2 separate regions of the Homo sapiens genome follow, and region 1 is linked to region 2. Evidence: promoter capture Hi-C in 16 types of primary human blood cells and fetal thymus (Javierre and others, 2016). All regions are on one chromosome and are shown on one strand. Each heading gives the region's core, a stretch centred on a gene start or on the middle of the fragment in contact. The rest is flanking DNA. Distances are from core to core; before and after follow the strand shown. Region 1 overlaps LINC02137 (long intergenic non-protein coding RNA 2137). Region 2 holds the start of PRSS54 (serine protease 54).

What was found. The method cuts DNA at HindIII sites, captures the fragments that hold promoters and counts their contacts. A CHiCAGO score of 5 or more calls a contact.
Region 1: a fragment that was not itself captured here is called in contact with the fragment with the promoter of PRSS54 in region 2 in 1 of 17 cell types (M1 macrophages); the score reaches 5.2 in M1 macrophages.

The regions. Positions count from the first base shown.
Region 1 is chr16:58,450,764-58,456,604 of GRCh38, reverse strand. The region is part of intron 2 of LINC02137 (long intergenic non-protein coding RNA 2137); the gene reads right to left. Among named protein-coding and RNA genes, the nearest start is that of LINC02137, 32 kb to the right of the region's middle. The HindIII fragment of the contact is 705 bases long and covers 1,463-2,167 here.
Region 2 is chr16:58,291,967-58,297,382 of GRCh38, reverse strand. PRSS54 (serine protease 54) reads left to right here and starts at 2,358. Exons shown (of 7, transcript NM_001305173.2): 1 at 2,358-2,496; 2 at 3,174-3,398; 3 at 3,561-3,651. The coding sequence starts at 3,567. The HindIII fragment of the contact is 4,073 bases long and covers 2,194-5,416 here.

The DNA.
Region 1 (5,841 bases), core at 566-3,065, 160 kb before region 2:
GTTACCAACCAGGGAAGCTCACCCAAGCCTTAGCATCCAGGGTTTTTATTGAGGTCAGTCATGTAAGTATGCATCACCCATGTGACCAACCTTAGCCACCAGTCTCCAGGCCCCCAGAGATCAAACGGACACAGTGGTGTCAGACAAATAAAAACAGGCATTCATCACAAGTTACATTGTTAGCATAAACTCTGGTCAAACTGATACAGTGTGCCAGGAGGCCCCAGACGTACAAAAACATTGTTATCAAACAGGATGCTACAAGGGCTGAGGTTATCTCCCAGAAGGAGTCAAGGGCCAGCCCCTTCTTTGGAATGTGCAGGGTTTGAGCAATACCAGCCTGCTGAGCTAACTCTTTACTGTTCAGATGCCAATCATTTATTTTACCTAATACACGCAGAAATCATCTGTTATCACCATGATTTCATAAAAGAAAGATTTAATGCCAAGAAGGTAGTTTGGACATTATGACAGTGTGGGTGGAGGTCTGTGCTCTCCAAGAGAAAACAGTTGGCTTGATGTCGCTGACTATGAAAATGAAGGGACCAGAAGCCACAAGTGTACACCATGAACCCAACATGGGCTTTTTTTCTTGTTTGTCTGCACAGCTTTGTCTCCAGTCAAGGAAGGGATGACCTGAGAGGCTCAGCCTTCCCTCTGCTCCTGTGCTGGTTCTGAGTCAGATGTCCCTACTCTTGGGCAGGACCAGGCCCTGCTGAGGATGGGAGGGCACGGTATGGAACCCTCCTCCCTTAAGCATCTAAGCCTGTTTGTCCTTTCTTTTCTTGGAACTCATTACTATTACAACTTATTCTGGCAAAGAAGGGAGTCTGTTCTTTTTTAGCAAGTGCTGTGGCCTCTGCCCTGCCCCTTGCCCCAGGCTCTGGTCCCTACTAGGCTGACTCTATGACCCTAGGATAGAACAGCTATTCTTTTTTTTTTTTTTTTTTTCTTTTTGAGACAGGGTCTCATTCCATTGCTCAGGCTGGAGTGCAGTGGTGTGATCATAGCTCACGGTAGCCTCAACCACCTAGGCTCAATCGATCTTCCCACCTCAGCCTCTTGAGTTGCTGGGACTACAGGTGCATGTCGCCACACCTGGCTAGTTCTTGTATTTTTTGTGGAGATAGGGTTTCCCCATGTTGCTCAGGCTGGTCTCAAACTCTTGGACTCAAGCAATTCTCGTATCTCAGCCTCCCAAAGTACTGGGATTACAGGCATGAGCCTCTGCGCCTGGCCAGAACAGCTATTCTTCTAAAGTCTCAACTCACCCCGCTTTCCTCACCATATATCCTCCATGCATAGAGCTGAGCATTAAAGACCTGGGCTGCTGGCCTGTGCAGGCTTCATGGCTTGGAGACAGACAGCCCTGGGTTCCACCATCCACTACCTGGGTGACCTGGAGCAAGTAACCTAACCTTGCAGATCTCTTTGTTTCTCAAGTGGGTCTAATGATAAAGCTTTGAGGAATTAGTGAGTGGGTAACAGCCCAGGGCCTGGTGCCGTTTGAATCCATTGATTAGTAGCTGTGAGGACGATGAATCACGTAGTTTCAGGTGCAAAGCGTGGGGGCAAAGAGAATCCTTGTGATGAGTGCAGTAGGTGCTGTGACACATCCAGCTGCCTTGGAACTGGGTGCTGAGAAGTCAGGGGGGTCCTGGGGCTTCAAGACTTCTGGGGAGGGAGCACAACTCATGCACATGACGAGAAGAGAGCTGGTGGGGCTTTGGGGTTGTGAGGACTGAGGGGCTTGTTCACCGTGGGGTCTTTGCATGTGCATTCTCTCTGTCTGGAGACCTCTTCCTTCCATTTTCTACACCTCCCATTTATCTCTGGAGTGTCCATTTAGACCTCAACTAACCCCTTCATTCCCTGACTCGCCTCCTCTGGGCCCCCTTTGAGCCCCCTGCTTTGTTGTAATAATAATCTGCCATTTATTGTGCCAGGGATAATGCAGAGGGCATTACCTACATATGTTATCTCCTTTGACTCACTCAATATTTAGAGAGCTAGCTGTAGCTTTATTTTTCTGATTTTACAGATGAAGAAACAGATACACAGAAGTGAAGCTGGTGGCTCAACAACCCTCCCTCACTCCATACAGTGGTTGTCTGTGTGCAATTTCATCTGTGCCCTGAACGATGAGCTTCCTGAGGGCAAGGAAGCTTGATCACTGTTTAGCCCCAGATACTTAGTAGATGGGAGCCCTCCACCAGTCCTTGCTGAATGAATGAATGAATGAATGAATGAATGAGTAGATGAATGTTTGTAAAGTGGCAATGCAAGCTGGGAATACCATGGACCACGGACAACAAACAAATATTAGTACCTGTGGTGGGCAGAATAACCCCCCCCCCCCCCAAATCCTAATCCCTGGAACCTCTGAATATGTTATGTTACTTGGCAGAGGGAAAGGAAGGTTGCAGATGGAATGAAAGTTGCTAATCAGCTGACTTTAAAATAGGGACATGATCCTGGATTATCTAGGTGGGTCCAAGGTAATCACGGGGGTCATCAAAAGTGGAAGAGGGAGGCAGGAGGGAACCAAAGAAATGGCAGTGTGAGAAGGATGTGGCTTGACAGTGTTGCTGGATTTGAAGATAGAGAAAGGGCCACAAAGCCAAGGAAAGCATGCAGCCTCTAGAAGCTGGAAAAGGGAAGGAAGGGGATTCTCCCTTACAGCTGCCAAAAGAAGGGCAGCCCTGCCGACATCTTGATTTCAGCCCAGAGAGACCCATTTCAGACTGAGGACCTCCAGAACTGTAAGCAAATATATTTGTGTTGTTTTAAGCCACAAATGTGATTTTTTTTTTTTTTTTGATGGAGTTTTGCTCCGTTGCCCAGGCTGGAGTGCAATGGGGCAATCTTGGCTCACTGCAACCTCCGCCTCCTGGGATCAAGCGATTCTCCTGCCTCAGCCTCCCAAGTGGCTGGGATTGCAGGCATGCACCACCATGCCCTGCTAATTTTTTTTGTATTTAGTAGAGACGGGGTTTCACCATGTTAGTCAGGCTGGTCTTGAACTCCTGACCTCAGGTGATCCACCCGCCTCTGCCTCCCAATGTGCTGGGACTACAGGCATGAGCCACCACACCCGGCCCACAAATGTGATTTTTGACAGCTTCCACAAAAAAGTGAATATAATGCCCTATCCCTGATGTCAAGAATCACATCTGACCCTTAGTGGTCACTTATCATATGATGGTTGAATTGCACTGGAGTATTGCTATAAGCACCCACTTACTATCAGGAAAGATGCATAACAAAAAAGTGCTTTTAAAAAATTTATATTTTGGGGTCTAACTGGGAGGTCTCAATGTGGGTCAGAATTTGATTCTGAGACAGAACCATTGGCTCAGCAGGTTGGGCTGGATGGATCACAGAGAGTGACACCAGGGGCCTTCTAGGGAAGGGAGTCACAGGCTAATGAGTGAGTAGTGATGCTGGACAGGTAGATGTCAGCATCCTGGGACCACCTATGGCCTCAGGCCTGGGGTCCCTGCATAATCATTAGGGCTACCATGCATTGAGTCTAGACCCTCTGCCAGACAGGATCCTAAGCCCCCCACAACATCAGCCCAACAGCCCATTATGTAGGCAACACGATGTTGCCTGCCTGCCAGAGGAAAGAACAGCCAGCCCTCGTGTACTCCTCCACCATGCCAGACACTGTTCCAAGAGTGGCACATCCTTAACCCATTGAGTCCTCATAACAGCCCCATGTGATGGCTCCCATCATTGTCCCCAGTTTACAGATTAGGAAACTGAGGCCTAGAAAGGAAGTCACTTGCCCACTCGCATAGCCAGTAATTGGGTCTGAACAAAGGCACTGTGGGCCCAGGGTCTCTGTTCTTTTTCTTTTTTTGAGACAGAGTCTCCTACTGTCACCCATGCTGGAGTGCAGTGGTGCAATCATGGTTCATTGCAGCCTCAACCTCCTGGGCTCAAGCCATCCTCCCACCTCAGCCTCCAAGAGTACTGAGATTATAGGCCTGAGCCACCACGCTCAGCTGTGAGTCTCTTAACTACTATGCTTTACTGCCTCTCTAGATGGAATAATAATTATATCATAATTATATATCTGTTAATGTAATAGTATAATAGTACAAACATTTAATAATTATATACCAAAATATGCCATTTTAGCACATTGGTTATTTTGAACTGAAGTCAACTGAAAAGAAGCAGATACAAGAAAAACTCTCTGGCCTCCCGCTATTTGCCTAAAAGCAGGATATAAATTTGTAAAAGTAGCTCTTCTTCACTCTCTGCCAGGAAGAACAGAAGTTAATCAACATAGACAACTTTGGACCTTTAGCCCAGAGAGGGCACCAGAGGAATCTACAAAACAAACCTGACTCACCCACCCTATCTTCCCTTAGCTTCTCCATATATTTACCCTCCCACAGCTTGCCTCCCTAGAAGCTCTAAATCCTTTCACTTTGTCTTGTCACTTCTCTAATAATTTATTGTTCTTTTGTCAAGATGCTGTATAAGCCCAAGTTCTAGCCACTCCCTTGAGTTACTCATCCCTGAGTATTTCCATGTGTATGCATGATGCACATATTGATAAACTTCTGCTTGTTTTTTTTCTTGTTAATCTGTCTTTTGTCAGCCTGGTTTACAGGACCCCAGCCAGAAAATCTAGGAGGATGGAAGGAAAAGGAATCTTTTCTTCCTCCCCTACAATACCATCTCCCATTTGGATCAGGCCTTTCTGTTTATGACACATTCTCCTGTTTTCTCTTGTCATCCTCACAGTGGCTGGTTATGATGATGAGTGCCCTTGGCTCACATTTTGGGAAACAGAGCCCAGAGAGGGAGACACCCACCCATCCACCATCCAAGATGAGGGTGGGATTCCTTCTGGGGTCTCCTGCCTCCAAGTCCAGAGTCGCCCACTCCCACCGGCTGCCCCCGTCTTGTCCTGGTGCATTATTTATGGGCCATTACCCACCTCCTGCAGGCATCCAGATGCTGCCTGCCAGAGCTGTGACCTCAGTGTCCCCTGGAGAAGATCAATGGTGCCCCCCCCCCAACCCCCTGCCAGCCCCACTCTCTGCTCTCCTCTCCAGCTGCTCCCTCTTTGGGTCTCTGCAGGCTCCTGGTGTGTGGCACAGCCTGTCCCGTCCCACCCACCAGAACCACCTTGTGAGCACAGATTCCTCTTTGCCAAGCCAGCTGACATATTCAGCAGGCTCCTGACTTGCTGAGCAAAGCAAGGGTAGTGGTGAATTCCAAGCTTTCCATGCCCTCACCCTGACATGTGCAGGGGTGGCATAGAGGGTGTGGATGGTGTGTGTGCATGTGCGTGTATGTGTGTCTTGAGAGGAGGGTGTGTGTGTGTTGTATGTGGGAGGGGTTGTTTAAGCACTCATGGTTGAACCCATTTGCATTGCCTCTTCTGGGTCTCATAACTGAAAGTGTAACCAGCAAGGGTCATTTTCTTCTTCCCTGTCACCCAGGGGGGTGGGAAGAGGTGCTTAGATCTAGAGTTAAGGTTGGGAGCAGGGCCCCTGGGAACCCTGGGATCCCACAGCTTTGGAGCTGTGTGATGTTGAGCAAATTGCTGAATCTCTCTGAGCATTATTTTCCTTCTCTTTATATCATTGAATCATGATGAAGATTAAATGAGAGTGCATAGAACGCATTCAGCACAGAGCCTGAGGGACAGCAAACACTGAAAATGAGCTTTTGACGATGCATGCGTTTGGATCACAAACTTGTGGAAGAAAGAACACCAGGAGGAGAGGAGAAGCCCAGGGTTCCACAGGCAGAATTCGTTGGGCTTTAGGCAGGAGTTTGGTCATCTTCACCTCAGTTTCCATGTCTATAAAATGG
Region 2 (5,416 bases), core at 1,109-3,608:
GCATGGTGGCTCCTGCCTATAATCCCAGCACTTTGGGAGGTCGAGGTGGGTGGATCACGAGGTCAAGAGTTCGAAACCAGTCTGATCAACATGGTGAAACCCTGTCTCTACTAAAAATACAAAAATTAGCCAGGAGGCTGAGGCGGGAGAATTGCTTAAATCTGGGAGGTGGAGGTTGCAGTCAGCCGAGATCATGCCACTGCACTCTAGCCTGGGCAACAGAGCGACACTCTGTCTAAAAAAAAAAAAAATTAGGAAAATAACACAAACTCAAAGAAGGTAGAAGAAAACAGACAATAAAAGATAAGGGCAGAAAATAATAAACTAGAAAACTAAGTACAAAGAGAAGTTCAACAAAGAAATTTATACTTTGATATGTGCTGGAGTCACATTGGAGACTTGTGACAAATGATGCTGGCATAACTAAGTATCCACACCATGCACAAAAAATGAATCCATACAGTTGAGGACTTACATGTGAAAAACAAGACTTCAAGGGTTTGAGAAGAAGATAGAGTAGACTAGATCTCTGATGCTGAGCTACGGAAGAATTTCTTAAACAAGACACAAAGAGTCCTAACTGAATAAGATGAATACATGTGAGTTCATGAAAATTAAGACTTCTGGTCTTAAGTGGAGACAGGGTTTCACCGTGTTAGCCAGGATGGTCTCGATCTCCTGACCTCGTGATCCGCCTGTCTCGGCCTCCCAAAGTGCTGGGATTACAGGTGAGAGCCACCGTGCCCGGCTGGATACGGGTATTAAGCAAAGAACAACTGAATGAGAAACACATTCTGGGCCACCACGTTCTCACCTGGAAAGCTCAGGAAATGCCTTTGTCCTGCCAGGGTGACTGGGGATTGTGAGGGAGGAAACATATGGTAATGAAAGCTCTTTGAGGGCCGGGTGCAGTGGCTCATATCTATATAATGGCTAATGCTTTGGGAGGTTTAGGTGGGAGGATCACTTGAGCCCAAGAGTTCGAGACCAGCGTGGGCAACACAGTGAGACCCCATCTCTTCAAAAAAATATAATATGAAAAATTAGCCAGACTTGGTGGCACAGGCCTGTAGTTCCAGCTACTTGGGAGGCTGAGGCTGGAGGATCACTTGAGCCCAGGAGTTCGAGGCTGCAGTGAGCTGTGATTGCACCACTGTACTCTAGCCTGGACAACAGAGCAAGAACTTGTCTCTAAAAACAATAAAAAATAAAAATTTAAAATACAGCTTTTTGATACCTGTGATGTGGAACAAATTAAAGAATCAACTCGCACTTCTCCCACTGCCAAAAATTTTCTGTTCTTGTAGCAGAAGCCAATACCCCCGCCCCCCTGCCCAGGGTTAAAGGTGAGGGAGGGTGGTGAAGCCGGCAGGACATCAGGGGAACCATGGGGGAAGGAGGTAGCGGCTCCCTTTGGACTCAGGCCTCACTTTATTATTATTATTATTATTTTGAGACAGGCTGTCACTCTGTCGCCCAAGCTGTAGTGCAGTGGTGCGATCTCAGCTCACTGCAACCTCCACCTCAGCTTCCCGAGTACCTGGGACTATAGGTGTGTGCCACCACGCCTGGCTAAATTTTTGTATTTTTGGTAAAAGACAGGGTCTCACCATGTTACCCAGTCTGGCCTCAAACTCCTGAGCTCAAGCAATTTGCCTGCCTCGGCTTCGCAAAGTGCTGGGATTATAGGCGTGAGCCACCGTGCCCAGCCAGTTTCCACTTTCTCACCAGCCTTCCTGCCTTCCATCAGCCATTCATCTACCCATCCAGTAAGGATCTTCTGAGCGTCTGCACCAGAGGCCTGTGCGCCCACCCTCCCCCTGTGGCTCCGTGGAATTAACATCTTACCTCAACCTTGTCGACACTTCTCGAGTCCTGGCATTTGGGCTGAAACCAAAGCTGCTCACAGTGGCTGGAGTGGCAGATCCCATCTGGGCCTCTGGTTTGGCAGAGCTGGTCTGGTAGCTTAGATTGGACCCGGAAACTGAGAGGCTAAAGAAAACTGGGCTAAGTCTGAAAGAAACCACCCTGGGAGTGTAAGATGCTGACGGGGACTGGAAATTCCAAACCCACCCCAGTTGTGGGCTTCCTCAGTCCAGTCTGACAAGCATGTGTGGACACAGGGCGGGCGCTGAGTGGGGTAGACAGACCGTGGCCACGACCAGAGAAGACTTTGTAATCCAGCAAAAAGCTTGCCTTCTCAGACTAGGAGAGAGCCTGGCTTCCAGAAGAGCCCTGCCAAGGCTAAGCAACAAGGAGGCCTTTCATCCTAGCTCCTCGTAAGTCCCCATGTCCAGACAGTTGCTTGGTGGTGCCATGGTAACCGTGATGCCACAATGGAACATTCTTCCCAAGGCAGTAGAAGAAATCCTTCTGTTGAACTCTACTGTGTCAGGCCAGCCTGAGTTCATTTCTCCTTGAGCAGGAACAGTTCATGGACGAACTCTGAGGACCATTCTGAGGACAAGAGGCATCCAGTGTCATGAGTGGAACATGGTGACTTAGAACTGTGCACATGGGTTCCTTGGGCTTCTGTGCATTGCTTGACAGCTGTGTGACCTTGGACTGGCTAGTTGATGTCTCTGAGTATCAGTTTCTGAATCTGTAAAATGGCGATAACTCGAGTGTCTACTTCCTACCGCGGTTTTGCAAATGAACTAAGCTAAATGCTGGGGCTGTTCCTATGTAAAGATACAGGCTATTGGCCGGGCACGGTGGCTCACGCTGGTAATCCCAGCACTTTGGGAGACTGAGGCGGGTGGATCACCTGAGGTCAGGAGTTCGAGACCAGCCTGGCCAACGTGACGAAACCCCATCTGTACTAAAAATACAAATATTACAAAATATTACAAAATAATACAAAAATTAGCTGGGCGTGGTGGCGCACATCTGTAGTCCCAGCTACTCAGGAAGCTGAGGCAGGAAAATCGCTTGAACCTGGGAGGCAGAGGTTGCAGTGAGCCAAGCTCGTGCCACTGCACTCCAGCCTGCCAAGGGAGCGAGACTCAGTCTCAAAAAAAATAAAATAAAATAAAAAACAAAAAAACAGGCTGTTAACAGTTAACAGAAGCCCTAGCGTTCTTTTAGCCAGCAGAGTTTAGAAGGGTAAAACCACAGCAGAGGCATTAATCCCAGGGTGGGCTTCCACTAAAACTCTACTTTTCTTTCAGCAGCATTTTATGGCTACAGAGTTAAGGCAAGGGTTGAATTCCACGAGTCAAAAAGCAGCCCTTTTCAGAGACCCAACTCTCTGGGGTGCTCAGGGGCTTGGGCTGGATTGAGAAGAAAACTGACAAGAGTAAGCTGCCCTCTCTTCTCTGGCCATCTCACAAACCACAGTGCGGGCCAACTGGTCCTGCCTCTTTACCACACAGAACCAAGCACTAGGGATAAGACAGGTCAGTGCCCTACATCTTGGAACCTTTGTTAGTAGAAAGAGGGGGAGCCTCTGATGTTTGGGAGGGAACATGTGTGTTTGGGAAGAGGATGGAAAAAAGAGGCATAGAAAACCCTGCATGTGTTTGGGAAGAGGATGGAGTCATTGGGTTTTGTTTCCCCAGCTGCCCATGGTGTCCGCGGCGGGTCTCTCTGGGGATGGCAAGATGCGAGGGGTGCTCCTGGTGCTGCTCGGCCTTCTCTATTCTTCCACCAGTGAGTGTGCTGCTTTCCTCCCTCTGACTTTAGCTGCACACGTGGCACAGAAGGGGATCATCCGGGAAGATGAAGTGGTCCTTAATGTCCAAGGAGGGGCTCAGGGAAGATGACTCACGGCACTTTGCACCGGGCGGCCTGCATTGGTGGCAGGAACCAGGCAAAGAAGTGAATCATGGGACGTGGATGGAGGAAACTAAAGTCAGGGCCAATCCTTAGGGTGGGAGTGTGGTTAGGAAAATAAGGCCCTCTGGGTACAGGGGTGAGCAAGAGGCCTGCCTCTTCACTCCCAGCCCCTGCCCTGTCCTTCCAGGAGAATACTGCTCTTTTGCAAACTACAACCCCCAACTGCAGGGCTGGTCCCGGGAGCAGGGGGCTTCTACTGCTGCAGGTGTCTTGGAGGCAGCCACAGCCTCAGATGGCAGAAGTGGCAGCTGCGGTCCCCTCCTCCCTTGACCTCTAGGCTGCCCAGGACTAAGAATTCCAGCCTACAGAGGGCAGGTGGAGGGGAGACAGCTAGCTAAAGCAGGCTCTGTCCCACCTTGCTGCCGTCCCAGCCCGCCCTGCCCTGCCTCCCTGGGGTTAGAAGGGAGACATGAGAAAGTCCACACACACCCTCACATACACACACGCACACACACACTCTCAAACACACACATGCACACACACTCACACACTTGCACACACATACACGCACACACATAGAGGGGAGTCCTCCAGCTCCCTCAGCCTCCTGCAGCTCTCTGTCTTCTTGCAGCCCCAAAGAGACCAGGGGATACCCAGAAAACACAGAAAGGTCCTCTCCCTCCTTAAAAAGCCACAGCTAAGGGGCCAAGACAAGCATTTCATCTCTGGGTCAGATTTCCTCATTACATCTTGGCTTTCCAAGGGTTTTGTGAGGTCAGATAAACTAGCCAACTAGAGCTTTGAAAAAGCAAAAGTCATCACACACTCCTAAACTCTTGTGGGGTTAGGGAAGGTTGGCAAATGCCTTGCACCGTAGATTGCCAATGTCCCAAAAAGAACTCAGACCAAAGATAAGGATCTTGTCTCTAGTGGTTCTGATGCACTTAGTGACCTTCCAGACATCATCTTGCTAAAATCAGTCTGTCATTGTTCCAGCAAAGTCATCAAGTGTCAATTAATGGAGATGTCTGGTCATATGTGCTCCATCATGGAGAGGTCCTCTGTGCTCCTTTAATGATAATTCTATATGTTACAATCAGTTCTTAGGGTCATGGTTTGGAAACTGTTTTTGGGGCTCATATGCAAGGTTGCCCTCAGGGGGAAGCCCTCCGAGACTTTATGTCCTGGGCAGAATTCGTGACCCCTCCTCTTATACTTTGGGCACACTTCCTGTGTCACATATCCCTCTATATGGCCATCACTCTTCAGCATGTCACTCTGATGGGCTCCTGAAATCCATCCTTGGAATCCCAGGCCCTACCTCAGCACCTGCCAGGGCCAAGTGTGGTTGGATGCATGGCTGAAAAAGGAGTCACCGGTAGGGTGTGGTGGCTCACTCCTGTAATCCCAGCACTTTGGGAGGCCGAGGCAAGCAGATCACTTGAGGTGAGGAGTTCAAGACCAGCCTGGCCAACATGGCAAAACCTCATCTCTGCTAAAAATAGAAAAATTAGCTGGGCATTGTGCCATGCGTCTATAATCCCAGCTACTCAGGAGGCTGAGGCAGGGGAGTCGCTTGAACCCAGGAGGCAGAGGTTGCAGTGAGCCGAGATTGCACCATTGCACTCCAGCCGGGCGA